Regions from separate parts of the Homo sapiens genome. Here all the other regions are linked to region 7. The links are contacts of gene promoters, found by promoter capture Hi-C in blood cells and fetal thymus (Javierre and others, 2016). All regions are on one chromosome and are shown on one strand. The core of a region is centred on a gene start or on the middle of the fragment in contact, and the rest is flanking DNA. Distances in the headings are between cores, read along the strand shown. Region 1 overlaps LOC105374235 (a long non-coding RNA gene). Region 2 holds the start of ZMAT3 (zinc finger matrin-type 3). Region 3 holds the start of PIK3CA (phosphatidylinositol-4,5-bisphosphate 3-kinase catalytic subunit alpha). Region 4 overlaps LOC105374235 (a long non-coding RNA gene). Region 5 has its middle 23 kb from the start of LINC01014. Region 6 overlaps LOC105374235 (a long non-coding RNA gene). Region 7 holds the start of TBL1XR1 (TBL1X/Y related 1).

Region 1 (2,700 bases), core at 32-2,531, 1.2 Mb before region 7:
TGCAGTTCTAGGATCCAAAGCAGAAATTTGGTGTGTGGCAGCTCTACGTATCTCACAAAGGAAGATTTCATGTGGAAAGTTCCTGCAATGTCCCAGTGCACAGACACCGGTCTTTTCTAATGTGCTGGTTCAAAAGTAGTGTGCCCTTTTTTTTTTTTTTTTTTTTTTGAAACAGTCTCCCTCTGTTGCCCAGGCTGGAGTGCAGTGGCGCGATCTCGGCTCACTGCAAGCTCCGCCTCCCGGGTTCACGCCATTCTCCTGCCTCAGCCTCCAGAGTAGCTGGGACTACAGGCGCCCACCACCACGCCCGGCTAATTTTGTTTTTGTATTTTTAGTAGAGACGGGGTTTCACCGTGTTAGCCAGGATGGTCTCGAACTCTTGACCTCAGGTGATCCGCCCATCTCGGCCTCCCAAAGTGCTGGGATTACAGGCGTGAGCCACCGCGCCCGGCCGCGTGCCTCTTCGTTTAATGACCTGGCAGCTTGTTTCTCAGCTGCAGATTTCTTTTGTTAGTGTTTCTGCCATTGCCAGAGGCATTTCTGTTGAACCTGGCATCTGTTAGTAAACTTTCTCCAAAACAAAGCTAATTTAGGTTTTGTAGTATATGAAGCCCTTCTAGCTCTTTCCACTTTTGATTTTATTTCATCCCTAAATTGCCATCGTATTGAGGTCATTTTTAACTATTTTTTTCCCAATGATTTATTTTTCCTAGTGTATTTTTTTTTTCTCTTGGAATTTGACCTAGGGCATGTGTGCATGAGTTTTACTCGGGACACTTTCTATTAATACCCCATAACTTTTCCAATTGTGTTCTGCCCTCTTCCCATCCTCCCACTTCAACTTCTTGGTCTAAGTTGAATATGAACTTTCCTTTGCCTGTCTCTGAGATTTGGATCTCTACCTTACACTCTCTCATCACTACCATAGTAGTATATTGTGAGCTATTCTGAGTGGGATGGAAGCCCTTTCTAGGAAGTGAAAAAGAATTATCCTCAATACATAGGAACATCTCAGAAACAAGTGAGTGTCCTCAAAATTTCCATACAAAAAAATGTAGGTGTGATTATCTGGTTGAAAGAATGGAAGGAAGAGTGTGGGTATGAGGGGTTGTGTTGAAACTGTTCGTATATAAAGCAAACTTTCTACTAAGCATATATCTTTATTGAAGGGAGGAGGTGATAAAGATTATTGTGGCAATGAAAGCCACCTTCATTAACTCTTCGATCCGGCACTCCTGTGCTTTCGTTCCGGATATTAAGTGACCTGACAGAGATCCCTCCTGAGTGCTTGGCATCTCCTTTCCATTTCGATTTGTTCTGCAGAAACTCCCTTGTTTTATGACAAGATTGGGATGACACAGGTAGCTCAACAGTGGGAGTGAGAACTCGGCAAGGAACAAGAGTCATGCCTACTTCCCCAATTCCTGCAGTCCAGCTTCCTTCTTTCTTCTTCTTTCTGGGATACTCCTGACATGTAGCAGGGTAAAAAGGAAGTCACATTAATTTAAGAGTTATCGGATAATGGATAAAAAAAATTAGAAAGAATGAATAAAACCTAGTATTTGCTAGCACAAAAGGGGGACTGTAGTCAAAAATAATTTAAGTGTTCATTTTGAAATAACTAAGAGTATGATTGAATCATTTGTAACACAAAGGATAAATGCTTGAGGTGATGAATACCCTATTTACCCTGATGTGATTATTACACACTGCATGCTTGTATCAAAATATCTCTTGTATCCCATAAATATATACAACTACTATGTTTCTGCAAAAATTAGAAAAAAATTAAAAAGGAAAAAAAACGAATTGACACTTATGTTGGGATTCTGGGTATGGCATCTAGGAGTATGAGGTCTGAGACAAGTAACTGAACATCTTTGAGACTCAGATATTTTTATCTGGGAAACAGGAATAATAAAATTACCTTTTAATTTAATTGGTTAATGGGAGGGTTGAAACAGATACTGTATGTTGAAGTTATGTTTGTATTAGAAAATGTTGAACAAATGCTATTCATCCTCCATCCCTAAGGAAACAATGAAAATGATGTAACAATATAAGAAATATAAAGAGCGTTATCTTCTTTCTAGTTGAATTTAATTCATTTCCATTCAATATGTTCTTAAATTGGGTTGCCATAGCTAATGGAAACCTGGTGAATGGAGAGGGAAATCTAGGATTATTGATGGTAGTTCTTTTGCATTAACTTGGTGTACAGGTACATAGGACTGTACTTGTACTGTGGTCATAATTTAATACAAATATTTCATAACAATACAAATATCAGTTTGTAAGAAAACTGTTTTTAGAAAGTAAATCTGTGATATGATAGAGTTTTGTGTGATGTGTCTGTATTTAAGCACATGTACCCATTCAAGCAGCAATCATCTCTTCCTTTTTACCAAAATAGGGTGTGTGTTTCCTTGTTCTTCTCTATGTGAAAGACTTCTGACCGACTACTTCACAGGCATGCAGGCACGTAATGATACATGAGTACACACAGTGGTGCAAAAGGCTGTGTTTAGGCATGCAAATACTCTTAAAAAAGTGCAGAACATTAGCAACATGACCTTTCCTTACATCTGAATATCTAATTTTGAGACCTAGCTCCACTATTAATGTGCTGTATGCCCTGATAAATCACCACCCTGAGTTTGCTTTCTCAGCTGTAAAATAAGAGATTTTAATTCTTAAAAT
Region 2 (2,700 bases), core at 131-2,630, 1.9 Mb before region 7:
CCAAATGGCTGGTGTACACTGTGTGTATATGTTTGTACTTCATATTCATTGTACTTATGAAGTCTTTTATGGTTTGTTGTTGTTGGTATTGGATTGGTGCATTTTTCAGCCAAAGAAACAGCCTTGATTTCCTGCAGTTGTTTCCCTACTAATAGGGCACATCTTACTATACTTAGATCTCCTTGGCATTTTAATTCGTGTTTTAAAAAATAACCACACAATAATGCAAATGTACTTAATGCCACTGAACTGTACTTTTTTTTTTTTTTTTTTTGAGACGGAGTCTCGCTCTGTCACCCAGGCTGGAGTGCAGCGGCGCGATCTCGGCTCACTGCAAGCTCCGCCTCCCGGGTTCACGCCATTCTCCTGCCTCAGCCTCCCGAGTAGCTGGGACTACAGGCGCCCACCACCACGCCTGGCTAATATTTTTGTATTTTTAGTAGAGATTGGGTTTCACCGTGTTAGCCAGGATGGTCTCGATCTCCTGACCCCGTGATCCACCCGCCTCGGCCTCCCAAAGTGTTGGGATTACAGGCGTGAGCCACCGCGCCCGGCCTGTACTCTTAAAGTAGTATATTTGTTATCGTTTGCCACACACAAAAATAATACCCCAGCAGATCTTCATACGAGTTAATTTACGCTATAAGTTTAGAGCCGGAATTTCCTCAGCTCATCACTCAGTGTTAACATTGAAGATGTCCAGGTTGGTTATGAAGGATGTGACATCCTAGCGTTGGCCACTCTTTTCCTGGTCCTTCCTGTCTTGCAGGTGAGCCTCTGGGGGTCAGGAGAAAGTCTCCTCTATCTCCTGCTCACTTTCGTGTAGGGGAGGGAAGGTGTGTGTGTGGGTGGGTGGGGGCGTTTTGTGTGAGGGAGGCCGATACTGGGCAGGCAGCCACGCTCTTCTTCCTCCATCCTGGGGCGGAAGTGGGGAGAGCAGCAGTTTAAAGGTTCTGTTGCAGCAGTTTAAAGGATCCACTCAGCCGCCTTAACCGCCAACCAGCAGGCTAAGGGAGGAACAGAATGAACAATGTTTGGATCCCAATGACTGGAGATGAAAGTTGCAAAAGCTCTGCCCAGGCTTCTACCAAGGATTAACTTTCCAGGGCATCTGCTGAACTGCTCTTCGGGGCTGTCTGCTGAGATTGGCGGCGGGACCCTCCCGCCTCTCACTCGTGCCTTTGTTCCCCACGCCGGCCTAACCCCGCGCCCCTGCGCTCGCGGCCAGGGCACCTGACCCACGCGCCGCCCGCCGGGGATGCGGGAGCCGCCACTGCTACCGCTGCCACCGCTGCCGGGCCTGCTCCGCCAAGCACATGCGCAGTGGCGACGCCGAGCCGGCGCCCTCAGTCTCCTCCTCCACCGCCTCCCGGTTCCGCAGTCACTTCCTGCAGCTGTTTCCCTGTGGGTCGGGTTGGACTGACTTTTGACAGTCAGCCTTCGGCTGCGGAGGGGGCTCGGCGGCGGCCGGCGGAGAAAGTTGCTCCGAGAAGAGGCTGGGTCGAGCTGGGCCGAGCCGGGCGCGCAGGGCGGGCGTCGCGGGCGTCCCGGGCGGACGCGGCGCGGAGACTGCCGGCGCGTCCCGGGGGTTCCGGTAAGTGCGGGCGATTGGGAGCCGCGGAGCTTTCAGGACGAGCCCCTGGAGCGCCGGGGACTAGCGGTTCCTTTCCGATGCTCTTTCCATCTGCCCTCCACGTGACAGGGCTTGCGCTGCTTCTATTTATCAGTTTGCTTGTTTCAGGCATTTCACGTGGACCAGGTGGATCATCTGTGCGTGCAGCTGCCTTGGCCCTCTCAGTTGCCCCCGCCCCGTGGGAGTCGGGGGATTCCATCCTTCGTGATGGCATCCATACCGGGTTGAGGTGCGTGTGTGGGTTCGTGTGTATGCATGCACATCTTAGGAATGTAAGGTGGATGTGGGCGACGCTGAACTGTCTGTAGCTTTGATTCAAATCTGTAAACAGTTCTCTAGGATTAGGAACCGTCACAGCGGAGACTGAAAAACATTCGCCAATTCACCAAGGCCTCTTCCCCAGTTTTCTGCGTTCTTTTGAGCCTTCTTTATAGGATACACCTTGCCTCAAGTGATTATTATTATTATTTTTTTTAACTTTTCTCCCTCTCATTCCTTCTTGCTGCGTTCTGATGACCTCTGAGTAATGCTCGCTGCCTTTCCCTCATTTCCAGAATTCCCAATTACAGACTTACCTAGTTTGCTGAGGTGCTCCTAACCTGTTCCTTTATTCTATTCTCTTTCCTCTGTAGATTTCTCCAAATGAGACAAGAGATTGTCTTTAACACAGTATGTGAAGAGTAGGCCCCAGTCCAATCATTAAAACTAAGTATGCTATGACAATTAATTTTCTTTAAACAGGGTACCTTGTGAAGCTTTGATTTTCTTTAATGTCGTCTTAGCTCCTTTCCAAACCAGGACATTAACCAGCATAAATCCTTCATTTATGCCATCGCAAGCATCAAAGTGACTGGTTTTTAAGATTTGAAGAATATTTATGCCAGTCTTCAAATTAGTCCCTTTTAAACCAATGCAACAGTTGAACAGATCTGAGTTGCATGTTTTGGGTCTCTGTATTCCATCATTCATGCATTCACTGAAGACTTGGTTTTATTCATTTTAAGATTTATATTTTATACTAATTTTTGTTTGCAAATGTACTAATATTTGATGCAATTGTCATACAT
Region 3 (2,700 bases), core at 80-2,579, 2.0 Mb before region 7:
ACAAACTATGATTCAAAACATCGTTCCGAAAACCCAGGTCCTGCATGTGCACAAAGGCGCAGTGCTGGAATGAGGAAGCTTCACCAAGATGAAATCACAACTCTAATTCATTAAAGAATATGCAGACTGTTTTCTAGAAAGACCCTCTTGTTGCGCTCCCTTTACCCTACCCTTTATTTAACCATGTAAACAGTCTCAATTATTGACATAAAAAAATAGCTTTCGATTCCCAAGTCTGGTAACACGGTTGGCCACCATCACTATTCCTTTAGCATCCTAAAATAAACCCCTCGAGCCGAGGTCAAAAACACGCCGGCTGAACGTCTGGTGTTTACATAGCCCAATCCCGGGCCCTACCCTACCTTTCCGAGCCACTTAAGAGCCATGGAACAGGCATCACATAATACACTTAGTAAAGAGACAAGTCACATGAGTCAGTGTCTCAGGTCTATGAATGAAAGATCTAAGCGTTTGTCTCAGCTAAAAGGAAAAAACAACCTCGAAAGGAAGGGTGGGAGGGGAGCTGGCGGGGGTGAGGGGAGCGGTGTTCCTTCCATACCCCTGCCGGGCGATTTAAACCCAGTAAGAGGCAAACGCAGGGCCGCCAGGCTGGCGGGGCCGGAGTCCTCGGGCGTGACAGCCCCTCAAGAAAAGCTCGCGGTTTCGCGCCCGCGTCCCTTGAGCCGCAGTCCTCGCGGCAGCCCCTCCACCCGCGGGCTGGGTGGGCGTGCAGGGCGCGGGAGACAGAGCCACCGCGGCCGGGGCGGCGGCCCTGGGCGCACTTCCTCAACCTCCAGCCGCCCCGTCCCCAAAACTGGGAGTAGAAGCAAAGGAAGAGCGAGGCGGCAGCCAGAGAGAAAGGAGAGGGAGCGGCGAGCCCTCGCCTCTGCAGCTAGGAGAGGCCAGAGGCAGGCGAGGGAGAGGGTGCGGCGATCGCAGGCGAACTCCGCCGCGGGCCGACGCTGGGAGACGACCAGCCCGTAGCCTCCGCCCAACACGGCGGGCGCGCCCGGGAGTCTCCGGCACCCACCCGGTCCCCATTCCCACCGCACCCGCTACCGGCCAGTCCGCGCTCTACTCACGCTCGGGGCTCTTCCAGGCTCCGCGGCTCTAACCGCATCGGGTCCCAGCCCCGCGGGCGGCGGCGGCGGCGCCGAGGGAGAGGAGAGCGGGCGGCACGGCCCCCGCCTCCCGGCCCCTCTCCCCCGCCGCTCCGGAGCTGCCCGGCCGGGCCCGAGCCCTGCCTCGCCGGCGGCCCCAGCCCCAGTCCCAGCGGCCGCGGCAGCAGCAGCCCGACACCTCAGCGGCCGCAGCGGCGGCACCGGAACTGCCGCTTTCTACTTCTCGCTCCCTCTCCTCGCTAGCCCCCGCCACACGCCCCCGCCCCCGACTCCTTTCTCCGTCGCCCCTGTTTTTTTTTCCTTTTGTTTCCAGAATAAACTTTATTGGTCTCTTTTTCCGCTCACATCGTGTAAACAAACAACGAACTCTTCCCCACCCCCTCGGCCCCCCCCCTCCTCCGGCAGAAGAGGGTAAGAGCTGAGGAGGGGCAGAGCCTACAATCCCCCGGAAGCAGATGCGCAAAGAAGCGGAAGCGAAATTGAGGCGAGGAGGAGCAGGGAGTGGGCAAATAGGGTAACAATATGTGCTACTGCGCCTGCGTCTTGCTTTTCCGCCCGAAGTTTATGTACAGTTGGGGCTGCTCTTCTGACGTTTGTTTAATGATCCGTCTTCTGCAGTAGTGAGGGTGTTGTGTCATCCTAGGACAGCGTACGTGTAGTATATTTGTTTCTACGAGCAGCAGGCGAGCTGGGGTAGAGATATAGAAAGGAATATTGGGAGCAAGTGGGTTATTTCACTTTTACACCCATAGAGGAAACGAGATTAGTTCGGGGGTGAGAGGAGGTGCGGTGGCTAACCGCCGCTGTCAGTGGCTAACCAGCGTGGTTATGGATTCTATAATAGAAAGAATGCTTTTTACAAAGCGTTGCTGTGCGTTCTTCTGCCGACATGGTTTAAGTTGTATACCATCCCGAAGGCGGAATGCACTGTCACAGCCCTCTGCAGTCCTTTGACTCACTTCGTGGAGACCTTTTGCTATGCCCTCATTTTTTTTTTTAAATCGAATTCTGATTCGAAGCAGCTTGTAGGATTCAATTCTAACTATTCAGAAGACGTGGGGGATTTTTCGCGTAATGCCAACAGAGACTTCAGAAATGTCATATAGGCTATAGATTTGATTCAAGGTAGTGTCTTGGTGCTGCGTACCTTAGAAGTCTGTTTGCTTGAGAGTAAATCAATCTGTTGACTTTTGAGATTACTACTGATAAGGGTTCGGTACTGTGCGTTTTTCTCCCCCTACTGGTCTTTTGTTGTAATATTGGAAAAGCGTAGGAGCAGTGATTAGAAGTCTGAGATACAAGTACTCCAGCATCGGTTCCTCCTTGAATTTTTAAGTAATAGAGGGCTTGGGAAGTGACCCATCCTAGAGATGTTACAGTCCTACTTGTCCTCTAGAGCAAAACTCTGACCAATAACAGTCTTCTCGAACACCGCACGTCCGTCCATACCCCAATGGTAAATGAGATGGATCTGTTCCTCTTTGTGGTCGTAGTTTCACTTGACTGTATTTCTTTCTTTTCTGTGTTTTCTTTCTTTCGTCCTTTTTCTCCCTTTAGCTCGGATTTTCATCTCACATTC
Region 4 (2,700 bases), core at 181-2,680, 1.2 Mb before region 7:
GGTTCCCTTGTGAAGAAATGTGGGAATTATATCTCAAGGCATATAAGGTGACTTAGCTCTCAAAGGTGTTCTTTTTTAGGGCAAGTAACAAAAGTGATTTTCACTGTTATCCTAGAATCATTCTTAATGAAGTTATCATTTGTTTCTTCCCTGAATACATCATGTTCTGACACTCGCTTATGCTCCTACCACACTGAATTTCTTATCATACTCTGAATTCAGGCCCTGTTATACTTCTCCCTTTGTCTTTGCACATATTCATCCCCCATCATACTTTTCCCTGTTTTCCTAGCTGAAACAAGATGTGAATTTGGTCCTTGAACAGTCAATGCACTTGCATTTCATTAGTGCTACATGACAGATTTTTTACATTCTTTTTGGTGGGTACGCTTCTTTATCCCTCAATTCTATCTTTGTCGTTATTGACATTGGACAACTCTCTGGCCTTTTTGTTTTGTTTTGTTTTGTTTTTGAAAGCATAGTCTTTTTCTAAGCCCCGTTATACGTCCTTGTTTTTATGTCTCAATGGCCCTTTCCCTCTGAAGCTAACCATTCTTGTCATAATCTTCGTACTGATCCCATATTCCCCTCTGAAGGACATTATGCTCATACTTATCTTCCTCTGTTTAGAAGCACCAATTTTTATTTTGCTTTTTCTTGCTCTCAATGTTTATATATTAAAAATCTAATTCTTTTCATCTAAATAAATACAGACTTTTCACAGATTTTATTGTACTTTGTAGCGTTGATATACTTTGTATCATTCTTTTTTAGCAACACAAATCCATTTTGACCACCCATTCCTCTTGCTTCTGCCTCTACCATTGAATTAAGCCCAGTATTTACAATGTTGTTATGATGTTCTTACAGTCAGATTTAAAAGCTTCTCCTTAGTCCTCTTACTTTTTGACATCTCAGTGCTATTCTGATTCTGTTGGCAATTTCAACTGCTTTCCAAACTTTTCCTTCCTCTTACTCTCACTGATATAGATGATTCCAATTTCTCTTTTTGGTTCATCTCTTTGTGGTTTATCTTCCCTCCATCACCAGGTCTCCTTTCTTCTTCCGTCTCTCAACCGTGAGAAATATCCAAACTTTATTTCTTGACCCTCTATTCTCAAACTTTATTTTGTAGAAGCTGCTATCCTCTATTTCTGTCTTAAATCTTCATCTATAAATCAATTGTTCCCAAATCCTAATCCTTTGCCAAATCTTTCCATCAGGCTACAGCCTTTTAGTTCAAACTACCTACAAGAAAACTTTTCTTGAAATTTCCTAAAAAGTACAAATTTAGTGTGACTATAGCCAAACTTCTCATTTTTATCCTTAAAAATGTCCCTTTTGTCCTCATCCTCCTTTTAAGTTGGGCCACTAGTACTCCTCAAAGTTCAAATGCTTGTAATTCATGACAAAGCCCAGTATATTTTCTTATAGGTTTCCCTGTCTGTTTTTATTGCCTTCTTCAATTTTCCTTCCCACAGGAAGACTTCACAACTCTTGTGTGAATATAGTTGCCTCCTAGCTATATTTTTTCTTTTATATCTTCCAGTTTTCCAAAACTATATCTTACCTTTCTCTCATTTTTTAAAAAATATTACCTTTCTCTAACTGTGCTTGCATTTAGTAACCCTATTATACAATTGGGCCCTTCTATTATAAATAGGCTATTCAGAAATCAGTTTACTAAATCAAAATAACAGTATCAGTAATCATACTCTACTGCCTCCTACAACTGACAGTATTTTTACTGCCTTTTAAAACTTGCTATATGTAAGAAAGTTAATAATGTTTATTACACATCTCAGAAAAATAAGCACAAACATAGCTAGCAGGCAGGCCATTATGTAAACAGAGGGATGAAAATGTTAATATACAACTGAATAGATGTCTGTTGGTGATGGACACAATCTCCCTGGCACTTAGCTTTGTTCCTCTCTATGGAAGTTTATGGGGAGAGGGTTTGTGAAAAAAGCTTTGATACTGTCTTATTCTCTTATGGTATTGTATGGTTTAGCATTCATGTGGTTTCCTAGTATTTTATAAATTGTATTCTTTTAATTGCCTCCATATGAATAGAAGCTATGATGCCTGTCATCTTGGCTAGCATATCTAGTTTCACTGTAAGAGTAAAGCCAAAAAAAAAAAAAAGAGTAAAGCCAAAACCAAAACAAAACAACTATAATTTATTGACTAAATTTTATTAGAGGCATTTTATATACTAATTTTATATTAAAATTTAGACTAATATAGGCAATTTGAAGGTAGAAATTTAAGGCAAGTAAAGTGATAATTTGGTAAGGGTATTCTACATCATTAGATAATTAGAAACATGTACTTAGTTTTTTTTTCTCTTTTAAATTTGAAGCCTTTGGCAAGAATTCAAGTTATACAGTTTTTTTTATGAAGCCCAAGTAGTCTTCAGTCTAAATGATCTTAGATCTAAATGTGTTTACACGTGATTTTTAAAACTTAATGACTATATAATCAACTAAAAATTTAGCAAATTCTGAAAAAATTTTATACAACCCATCTGTTAATATTTAAATATTCTCTTTTAATCTTTTTAAAAATGTGTATGTGTTTTGCATGCCAGTAATCATAGTGTTTATGCTTTTTTCCTGTGGAATTTAAAAGACAACACTTTATCACAACTATTTCCCCTGCATATGCTGCATAGCTTCCATGCTTCTGTGATTTTTT
Region 5 (2,700 bases), core at 141-2,640, 1.2 Mb before region 7:
GCTCATCAAAAGACATATACAAAATAAGCTTTGTAGAAGTCTTATTCATAATAGTGAAAAGTACCCAAATATCCAACCATAATAGAAGGATAATTAAATATTGGTATGTAGCAATACAATAGAGCAGTGAGAATTTTAAAAACTCTAACTATATGCAATTACATCGATGGTTCTTAAAATATAATGCTGAACCAAAAAAGCAGAGATAGAAGAATACATAGTTTATGATTCCATTTATATAAATTTTAAAATGGGATAAAATATGTTTTGCAACACTAAGATTCTAGATGGTCACTGCTTTTGAGGGCAGATGGTAGGAGGTGGTCACAGATGAGCTTCTGGAGTGTTGGTGATTTTTAAATTTCTTGATCTGGAAGCTGGTCAAATGCGTATGTTTACTTCATGACAACACATTAAGCTGTATACCTGGAATTTTTGTACTTACTATATTTATGTTTTATTCCAATATTTTAAAAATTTACATACAATATGCGCTATTAAATTTGGAGACCACAGACAATATTCATGAAAAATGAGATTAAAAAGAAACACATCTCTATGTGGGCAGATAATAGTAAAACTTCTCAAACAAGGTGAAAAAAATATTCTGCCATCAGCCAAGATGAGGAAACTGTGACTGGATTTACCCTTCTGCCTAAAACAGCTAAAATCCCAGAAAAAATCTCTGAAACAGAAATTTTTTAGACATTGGACCTTAGGCCGCATGGGACAGTTATACCTGGGAGAGGAAAAGCAAATAAAGTGAACATTATGATTGCACCAGGTAACTGTCTAGAGAGTTTCCATGCTGCAGCATGAAGAGAAGATACCAGGCAAAGCCTGGAAGTCCCTGAGTTGAGGAGACAGAGTTGGGTGTCCTCAGAAACCACGATATAAAGTATATAAAGAATATCCAAAATAAATGTCCAAAGATAAAAATTACAATGTTTAATATAAAAAATACATTGGATGAGATTAATAGCATATTAGACAATGCAGAAGAAAGATTAATGATTCATGTGTAAATAGAAACTATAATAAACAGTATTAAAAGATTGAAAAAATATGAGTATTACATTAGTGAGATAGGGGACAACTTTAATTGGCCAAATATCCATCTAATTGGAGTTCCCAAAACAGAAGAGAGAAAAAATAGTGTAAAAATACTGATAGCCCAGTCCATGCTCTAGAATAATTGAATCAGAATACCTGTGGGTGGCATCTGGAGATCAAGAGTTGGACAGGAATGGTATATGCGTGCTGAGAACAGGATAAATCAATGGCCTAGCCTGGTGAAAGTGGCTTTCCAAACCAGGATATATGTTATTGACCAAAATGGAAGTGGAATCTGACATAGTGGGTTTTTGGAAGGAGCAGAACCTGTGACATGAAGGAGAAAGCCAAAGCTACGGGAATTTACATAAGGGCGGTCTTTTGTGAGACTTGGCAAGGAGACAGCAAAACATTGATCTGATTGGTGGTTAAGAAGGTGATTATTTCAGAGAACCTGTAATAAGATCATAGGATCCTATTATAAGATAATTTCTGCTCCTCACTGCTCTGAGTTGATAGATTTTCAGGACCCAGTCTTGCCATTTCCAAGTAATGTAATTATATTTTGTGAGCAAGAGATATGATCCTCAAAAGATATCTTGGTGGCTGGAGCAACATCCCAAATGGAATCAGCTGAAAATTTCCAAGATTCAAGATTGCACAAAATTAATATTAACCCACTCTTAAAAGAATGTGTATTTCAAGAGGGGAAGTGAGGGAGAAAAGACACACACAGTGAGGGAGAAAAGACATATACAGATTAGCTTTTAGTTTCAGACTCTGCTATTATTTTATCTCTAATCTTGTCTCCCAAAAATGGATTGTAAATATTTTGTAAATACCATGAAATTAGGAATATATCTTATCCTTAAGTTTTTACCACTAGCATAGCATTAGGTGTTTAATTAATATTTGTTTAGTAATTTGATAGGCAAAAATGTATTCGTTGTGTATGTCAAACCGATGAATTGAATGCTCCCTGAGATTTTGTTACAGCTCTTAATCTATGGGAGTTGTTATCTTGGGCTAGCTAATGGCAACTCTGCTTTATAAACACATACACGTTTTGATGTAAACTTTTAATTGAAATATATCTACAAAAAGCACAGAGATCAATAGTGTATGGCAGAATAAACTTTTACAAAGTGAACAAACTTATGTGATCAGCACCAGGATTAAAAACAGAACATCACCTGGATCCCAGAAGGTCTCTTCTGTCTCCTTACATTTGGTAACTTTCTAAGAGTAACCACTATCTTGAATTGTGACACCATAGATTAATTTTGCAATCTTTTGAGCCTGGCTTCTTTTGCTGTATATTTGTGACTTATATCTGTATTTTTGTGTATAGTTACAGTTCATTCTCACTGCTAAATAGTACTTATTGTCTAAATATGCCACTATTTATTTATTCAGTCTACTGTTGTTAGATATTTGAGTAGCTTCCTATATGGGGATATTATAAATAGTGCTGCTATGAAAATTCTTGGACATGTCTTTTGGGGAATATGCTTATGCATTTTGTTAAGTTTGTATCTAAAAGTAGAATAGCTGGGTCAAAGATATGCACAGCTTAGCTTTAGTAGATACTGCCAAGCATTTCTTCAATTTATACTCCCACCAGCAATATATAAGAGTTCCAGCTGC
Region 6 (2,700 bases), core at 57-2,556, 1.1 Mb before region 7:
TGAAAAAAATCCTTTCTTATAAAAACAGTAAATTATGCTAATTTAAAAATTTTGATAAAGTGCATAGATTTGATTATTTTGACTATCGCAGGTGGTATTTGATTATTTCCCTAACTTGCTGTAATTACCCCATCAAATAATATTATTATAGTTAAATAATAGTTGTCTTCTTATAGTATAAATTTTTAAAAAAATGTTTAACTTTACATTTCTGCTTCCTATAATGGCAGATTGGGTAACTTGGTCCAACTATCCCCTAGAAGTCAATTGAAAATCTTGTCGATATATAAAAAATTTTGCTTGAAAGTAATAGGGAGATAGCATAATAGTGAGGAATTATCAGTCTGGGATGTGTGGAAAGGTTGAAAATCAGAGGAATTTGAGTTATATTTCACCTGGGAGTAAGTAAAAAAATCTATGAGGGAGCTGAAAGAATAAAAGGATGGATGGCTCATTTGATAGCCTCAAGGCTAGAGTAAAAACCTCTGGGTACAAGGCACACCAGTAAAAGTCCTGATGCATCTTCCTTACACTGAGATGGAACTCTAAAAAGCCTCACTAGAGAGTAACTGTGATACAGAAGAAGATGGCTTCTGCAGGGACTGCAGTTCAGCTTTGTGGGCATCTCAGCTTTGAGTAATCCCAGATGGCTAGGTACTCTGAATATAAAAATTTAAATACTTTCGGGAAAAACAAAATGTTTCTATTACTCAAACTATCTACAAAGTTTTGAAAATACTAGCACACATGACATAAGTATGGAAACAATAAACATTACAGACTACTAGAGGATGGAGGGAGAGGGGCTGGGTTACAAAAAATACCCATTGAGTACTATACTTAGTACCAGGATGACAGGATCCATACTCCAAATCTCAGCATCAGGCAATATTCCCATGTAACAAATATGTACATGTACCCCTGTATCTAAAATTAAGGCTGACATTTTAAAAATGAAAATACAATATTTAAAACATGAAATCAAAATGCTAGTTATATAAGTTGTAAAAATAACATGACTGGAAAGTAATATCAATAATGATAATAACAGAAACAGAACCACTGGGGGAAGTTGTCAATTCCAGGTTTTAAAATAAGTATGCTCACTAAATTAAGAAGTTAAGGGCAGGAATAAAATAATTTAAGCTTGAAACTGGGAAGAACCACATTGAAATTCTGTAATTGAGAAACTTAAACACCAAAGTGAAAAACTCAAATAGTGGAATTAACGGCAGACAAGAGAGAATTTGTGAACTAGATTACAGATTAGAAATAAATTTCGAATACCAAAACAAATTATATATAAGTCTAGAAAATATAAAGAGAAAAAAAGAGAGACAGTGTATAGGTCTGCTTATATATAATCTAATCCCAAAATAAAAAGGAAGAGAGGATAGGACAGAAATGATATTAGAGAATGTAATGATAAATAATTTGTTTTTAATTGAGGAAAAGCATCAAGCTTAGAAGCCTACAAATCCTACAAATCCCAAGTAGAAACATTTAAAAGAAAGTCACATGCAGGCTTATGATCATAGCAGTATTGAAGCTAAATTTGAAGAAAAAATATTAATATAGATTATATGAATAAATTATTTTCAGGGAACAACAATTAGAATGAAAGCCAAATTTTCAACAGAAATAATAAAGACAGGAAGGAAAATAAATGGTATTGTCAAAATGGGGAAATGAAATAATTGCAAACCTGTAACTATAATTTATTGAAAATATTCTTGAAGAGTGAGAGTAAAATAAAGACACTTTCTGACAAACAAAATGAGAAAATTTTTCAGTGTACCATCACTGAAGAAAATGCTAATAATTTTTTTTCAGGCAGAAGAAAATAAGCTAAGATAGAGCTCAGAAATATAGAAAGAAGTGTAGTGAATCAAGAAAAGTACATAGAAAAGTAAAGGTGAACTAATATTGAAAGTATAAAACAATAAGAAAGATGTATTGTGGAGCTGAATTAATATTGAAAGCATAACACAATAAGAATGATGTAATGTGGAGTTTAAAACATCAAGATAATTAAAATGTAAGACTTAGCAGCGTATGCTTTTGGAAGTGGATAACTGGAGTTAAATGATTCTCAGGCCCTTCCTTCAAGAGGAAGGGAAACAAAGAAATTAATGAGAATTTGGCCTTCTGGCTTGGAAGAGTGGGTGCCTAAAAGGCCAATTTCTTCTATAAATAACAGCTATAAAATTTGAAAAACAAATCTGCAACAATAGAATCTAACAGAGGACTCTAGGGGTTGAACAGTGGTGGTAGATTTGGGATTGGAGTAGAAACTTGTAGCAAGTGACTGGCATAAAATGAGTTCCCTGGATTTTGTGACTTTTCTCTGACAGTGGCCATAGGCATTGCCTTGAAAGCAAAAACAAATGCAAATCTGTGATAGAGAACCCGGTCCTTCTGGCCATCAAGGGAGATCAAACAGCCAAGGCTACCAGAGAATAAAGGAAGGTACTCAGAAAGCTGAGGCACAGAGAAGGTGAACCCCAAGTCTCCTGGTTTAACTCAGCCTGTCACTGGCTGACTCTTGAACCTGTTGTTTATGACACAAACTGAAAATTGTGTACATCTAAAAATTTAAGAATTGATCTGATATCTGAGCTACCACCCACCACAGGCATGAGAATTGACAATATGATTCTAAGTGAATTGCCTGCTGAAACAAAACAATACTCCTTAAAA
Region 7 (2,700 bases), core at 92-2,591:
CTTTAAAGTGATCACTACATCTATTTTCAAATATTCTGATGAAAGTAGGAAAACAGAACCCTTCACCTTTAAGAAAGCTGCAAACATTATTTTGCTTTGAAGGCAGTAATAAGCGAAATAACAAAAAGGTTTCAAGTCGTATCTTAATGTAAAAGGGTGGCTGCTTCTCCAGTCCTGAGCTTATACAAAGCTCTAAAAAGCACCCTACCCCATCTTTCTGAAAGTCTTAGAAAGATTACCACCCCATTTGCTTTAAAACCTGTGAGGTGCCTCCCTTCTTTAAAAACAACCCTCCCTCAACCATACTGCCACATTATCACTCATCTAAGTTATACTTTATAAACCGCCTTGCTGTGCTTCACACATGCAAAAAGTACACAAAGTGGATAAACTTCTACTGTGGATGCCACTGTGCAGGTATATATTTAGTAAACATTTAGTTACATTATTTTATTTTTGTGAAATAAGAACTGATCGAGCAAACCTTTCAAACAGACCCACCAGATGATAAATACCACCATATGCTTGATTCACAGTACATTTGGGCATAAATACTTCAATTACAGCTTTGTGTTTAGTATCAAAAACCTTTTCTTGTGTGCGTGTTTTCTCTCCAGATCCCGTGCTCTGGATCACATTTTGAAAGTCGCTTATTACAGATAAAGCACCTTTCCAGGTACGCTTCGGAGAACCATATGTATTTACGCACACAAAGGTGTTCACAGAGATTTTCACAAACAAATGTCCATATGATGCCGCGCCGCACTCCCCCACATGCCCGCCGCGTGTGCGCCCAGCCCCCAACGCCGCCGGGCCGCCCCCCGGACACGCGGGAGCCCGCGGCGTCCTTGGGGAAACTTCGCCGGCGGCTCCACCCCGGCCACCGCGCGGGCCTCCCCGCCCCCACCCGTCTCGGGCCCAGCGGCCCACACCCGAGCACACCCAGGCCGGCCCGCGGCGGTGGGGGCGGGGCGGGCGGCCCGGGGCCCCGAGGCGCCTTCGAGTGCCCGCGGGGCTCGCCTGATTTTTAAAAGAATGCGCCGCACAGCCCAGCCCCCAGTGCCGCCAGAGCGGGCCGGGAAGGAGAGGAGCGCGGCCGCTGGAGCCCCCCCGCCGCGCCGCCGCCGCCTCCCGGCGTCCGCGGCGCCCCTCCCCCGCCGGCCCCTCCCCCGCGCGCCCGCCCGCCCGCTCGCCCGCCCGCCCGGCGCAGGCCGCTCGGGTTTGTTTTGCTGCGCGGCCGCCGCCGCCGCCGCCGCCGCGGGCCTCGCGAGCTCATTTGTGCCTGGCTGGTCCCCATTCCTCTCTCCCCAGTGTTGAGTGTCTGAGCCGTTGGCTGCTCCGAACCGTTTGGCTCTTTCCCTTAGTAACAGCTTTTACCTTCTGCCTCAATTCCTCTCCCCGCTCGCGCCCTTCCCCCGCGCGCCGCCTCCCCCCGCCGCCGGCCGCGTGCGCCCCCGCCCCTCCCCCCGCGGCGGGAGCACCTCCGCTCGCCACCTGGGGACCCGCGCCGCGCTCCCCGCCCCCGCCCGCCCGGCGCCCATCCCCCGCGCCCTCCGCTCGCTGGGGTTATAATTGCCTCTCACCCCCCGGAGGGGTTATTTTGGGGGTGGTTGGAGGCGGTGGCGGCGGCGGCGAGGAGGGGAATTTCCTTGTGCCTCCATTCCCGGGAGGGGGGAGCGGCGTTGGAGGCCACCGTTTCCAGGTAAGCGCTGGGGGCCGGACCCTGGAGTGGGGGCGGCCGGGGGCCTGGGCGGGGGGCGCGGGCCAGAGGCGGCCGGGGGCGCTGGGCCGCGGGGGGATGGGCGCGAGTGGAACATGCATTTTTCAACTTGGCCCTTGGGGGAACTGGGCTTGCGTGGGGGAAGGGAAGGCAGGGAGGGCACTTGGGGCGCCCCCATCCCCCCGTTTTCCTCTCTCAGGTTTCTTTGAAATGCTCACGTGCCTGCCCACCCCCCTACCCTTTCCCGGTCTCGGGGGATCCTCACCCTAATTATGTTGTCCCCGAAAATGTGCACCTCGGCCTTCTCCCCCTCTTCCTCCCTTCGTGCATTTACACCCCCTTTTTGTGCGTGTGTGTTTGGGGGGGGAGGCTTTCAGGAAAGGATTTGCAGCAAATTGAATCAAGGAGCCATCATGAGGCCGACTCCTTTATAGCCTATTTTTAGCAGAGGAGAAGGAGCTTTTCGGTGCATGCTATTTTGTGAAACCTCGGGCGGCAATGGAAATCTCCCCTCCCCGGGCGCGTCCCCGGCCCGGGCGCGGCGACCCCGGCCGGCGTGCTGGGGGCTGCGGGCGGCTGTTGGGGCCGCGCGTCCGGGGCGGGGGCGCCGGCCGGGGGAGGGGCGCGCGGCAGCCGGGCCTTGCTCCGGGACGTGTTTATTTGTAACTTAGTGCTTTTTATCGTCTTAAGGAGGTATTTGGTGGAGGCTCTTTGAAGTTGGGTTCAGGAGTGTAGAATTGGCAAAGTTATTGCCAGCTTCCTGGTAAGTTTTGGGTGGCACAGAGTCACGTTATTTTCTGACAGTGTAAAGGCCACGTTGTGAGGGTGGTTTCTCGGTAACTTCCTCTTTGCAACCGATTTAATTTTTTGAACAGAAGCAGACTTTTATTTAAGTGGAATATTAATCTTAAATGGCAGCTCGAGGGAAGCCATGCATGTGTTAACGTGTTCAGTATTTTTGGAAGTTCTTAATTTGCTGA

The links. Contacts are between HindIII fragments. The CHiCAGO score rates a contact against its expected background, and 5 or more counts as called.
Region 1: a fragment that was not itself captured here is called in contact with the fragment with the promoter of TBL1XR1 in region 7 in 2 of 17 cell types (endothelial precursors and megakaryocytes); the score reaches 6.4 in endothelial precursors.
Region 2: the fragment with the promoter of ZMAT3 here is called in contact with the fragment with the promoter of TBL1XR1 in region 7 in 1 of 17 cell types (fetal thymus); the score reaches 6.1 in fetal thymus.
Region 3: the fragment with the promoter of PIK3CA here is called in contact with the fragment with the promoter of TBL1XR1 in region 7 in 7 of 17 cell types (fetal thymus, non-activated CD4 T cells, total CD4 T cells and 4 more); the score reaches 10.9 in fetal thymus.
Region 4: a fragment that was not itself captured here is called in contact with the fragment with the promoter of TBL1XR1 in region 7 in 1 of 17 cell types (endothelial precursors); the score reaches 6.2 in endothelial precursors.
Region 5: a contact is called between a fragment that was not itself captured here and the fragment with the promoter of TBL1XR1 in region 7, in 1 of 17 cell types (erythroblasts). The highest score is 5.3, in erythroblasts.
Region 6: a fragment that was not itself captured here is called in contact with the fragment with the promoter of TBL1XR1 in region 7 in 1 of 17 cell types (endothelial precursors); the score reaches 5.3 in endothelial precursors.

What each region holds. Positions count from the first base shown.
Region 1 is chr3:178,376,777-178,379,476 of GRCh38, reverse strand. The region is part of intron 1 of LOC105374235 (a long non-coding RNA gene); the gene reads left to right. Among named protein-coding and RNA genes, the nearest start is that of LINC01014, 41 kb to the left of the region's middle. The HindIII fragment of the contact is 3,496 bases long and covers 1-2,700 here.
Region 2 is chr3:179,070,489-179,073,188 of GRCh38, reverse strand. ZMAT3 (zinc finger matrin-type 3) reads left to right here and starts at 1,380. Exons shown (of 6, transcript NM_022470.4): 1 at 1,380-1,594. RefSeq lists silencers at 954-1,363, 1,504-1,653. The HindIII fragment of the contact is 9,531 bases long and covers 1-2,390 here.
Region 3 is chr3:179,146,986-179,149,685 of GRCh38, reverse strand. PIK3CA (phosphatidylinositol-4,5-bisphosphate 3-kinase catalytic subunit alpha) reads right to left here and starts at 1,329. Exons shown (of 21, transcript NM_006218.4): 1 at 1,083-1,329. It overlaps PIK3CA-DT (PIK3CA divergent transcript), which reads left to right and starts at 1,713. Exons shown (of 3, transcript NR_125401.1): 1 at 1,713-1,770. RefSeq lists silencers at 705-754, 815-1,284 and enhancers at 466-965, 1,775-1,894, 2,505-2,614. The HindIII fragment of the contact is 3,906 bases long and covers 81-2,700 here.
Region 4 is chr3:178,352,862-178,355,561 of GRCh38, reverse strand. All of the region lies in intron 2 of LOC105374235 (a long non-coding RNA gene), which reads left to right. Among named protein-coding and RNA genes, the nearest start is that of LINC01014, 65 kb to the left of the region's middle. The HindIII fragment of the contact is 1,089 bases long and covers 886-1,974 here.
Region 5 is chr3:178,394,538-178,397,237 of GRCh38, reverse strand. No RefSeq gene overlaps it. Among named protein-coding and RNA genes, the nearest start is that of LINC01014, 23 kb to the left of the region's middle. The HindIII fragment of the contact is 2,720 bases long and covers 31-2,700 here.
Region 6 is chr3:178,336,369-178,339,068 of GRCh38, reverse strand. All of the region lies in intron 2 of LOC105374235 (a long non-coding RNA gene), which reads left to right. Among named protein-coding and RNA genes, the nearest start is that of LINC01014, 81 kb to the left of the region's middle. The HindIII fragment of the contact is 316 bases long and covers 1,149-1,464 here.
Region 7 is chr3:177,196,123-177,198,822 of GRCh38, reverse strand. It overlaps TBL1XR1 (TBL1X/Y related 1), which reads left to right and starts at 1,341. Exons shown (of 16, transcript NM_024665.7): 1 at 1,341-1,702. RefSeq lists silencers at 750-1,129, 1,370-1,559, 1,670-1,769, 2,250-2,299 and enhancers at 747-1,254, 1,255-1,764. The HindIII fragment of the contact is 6,955 bases long and covers 1-2,700 here.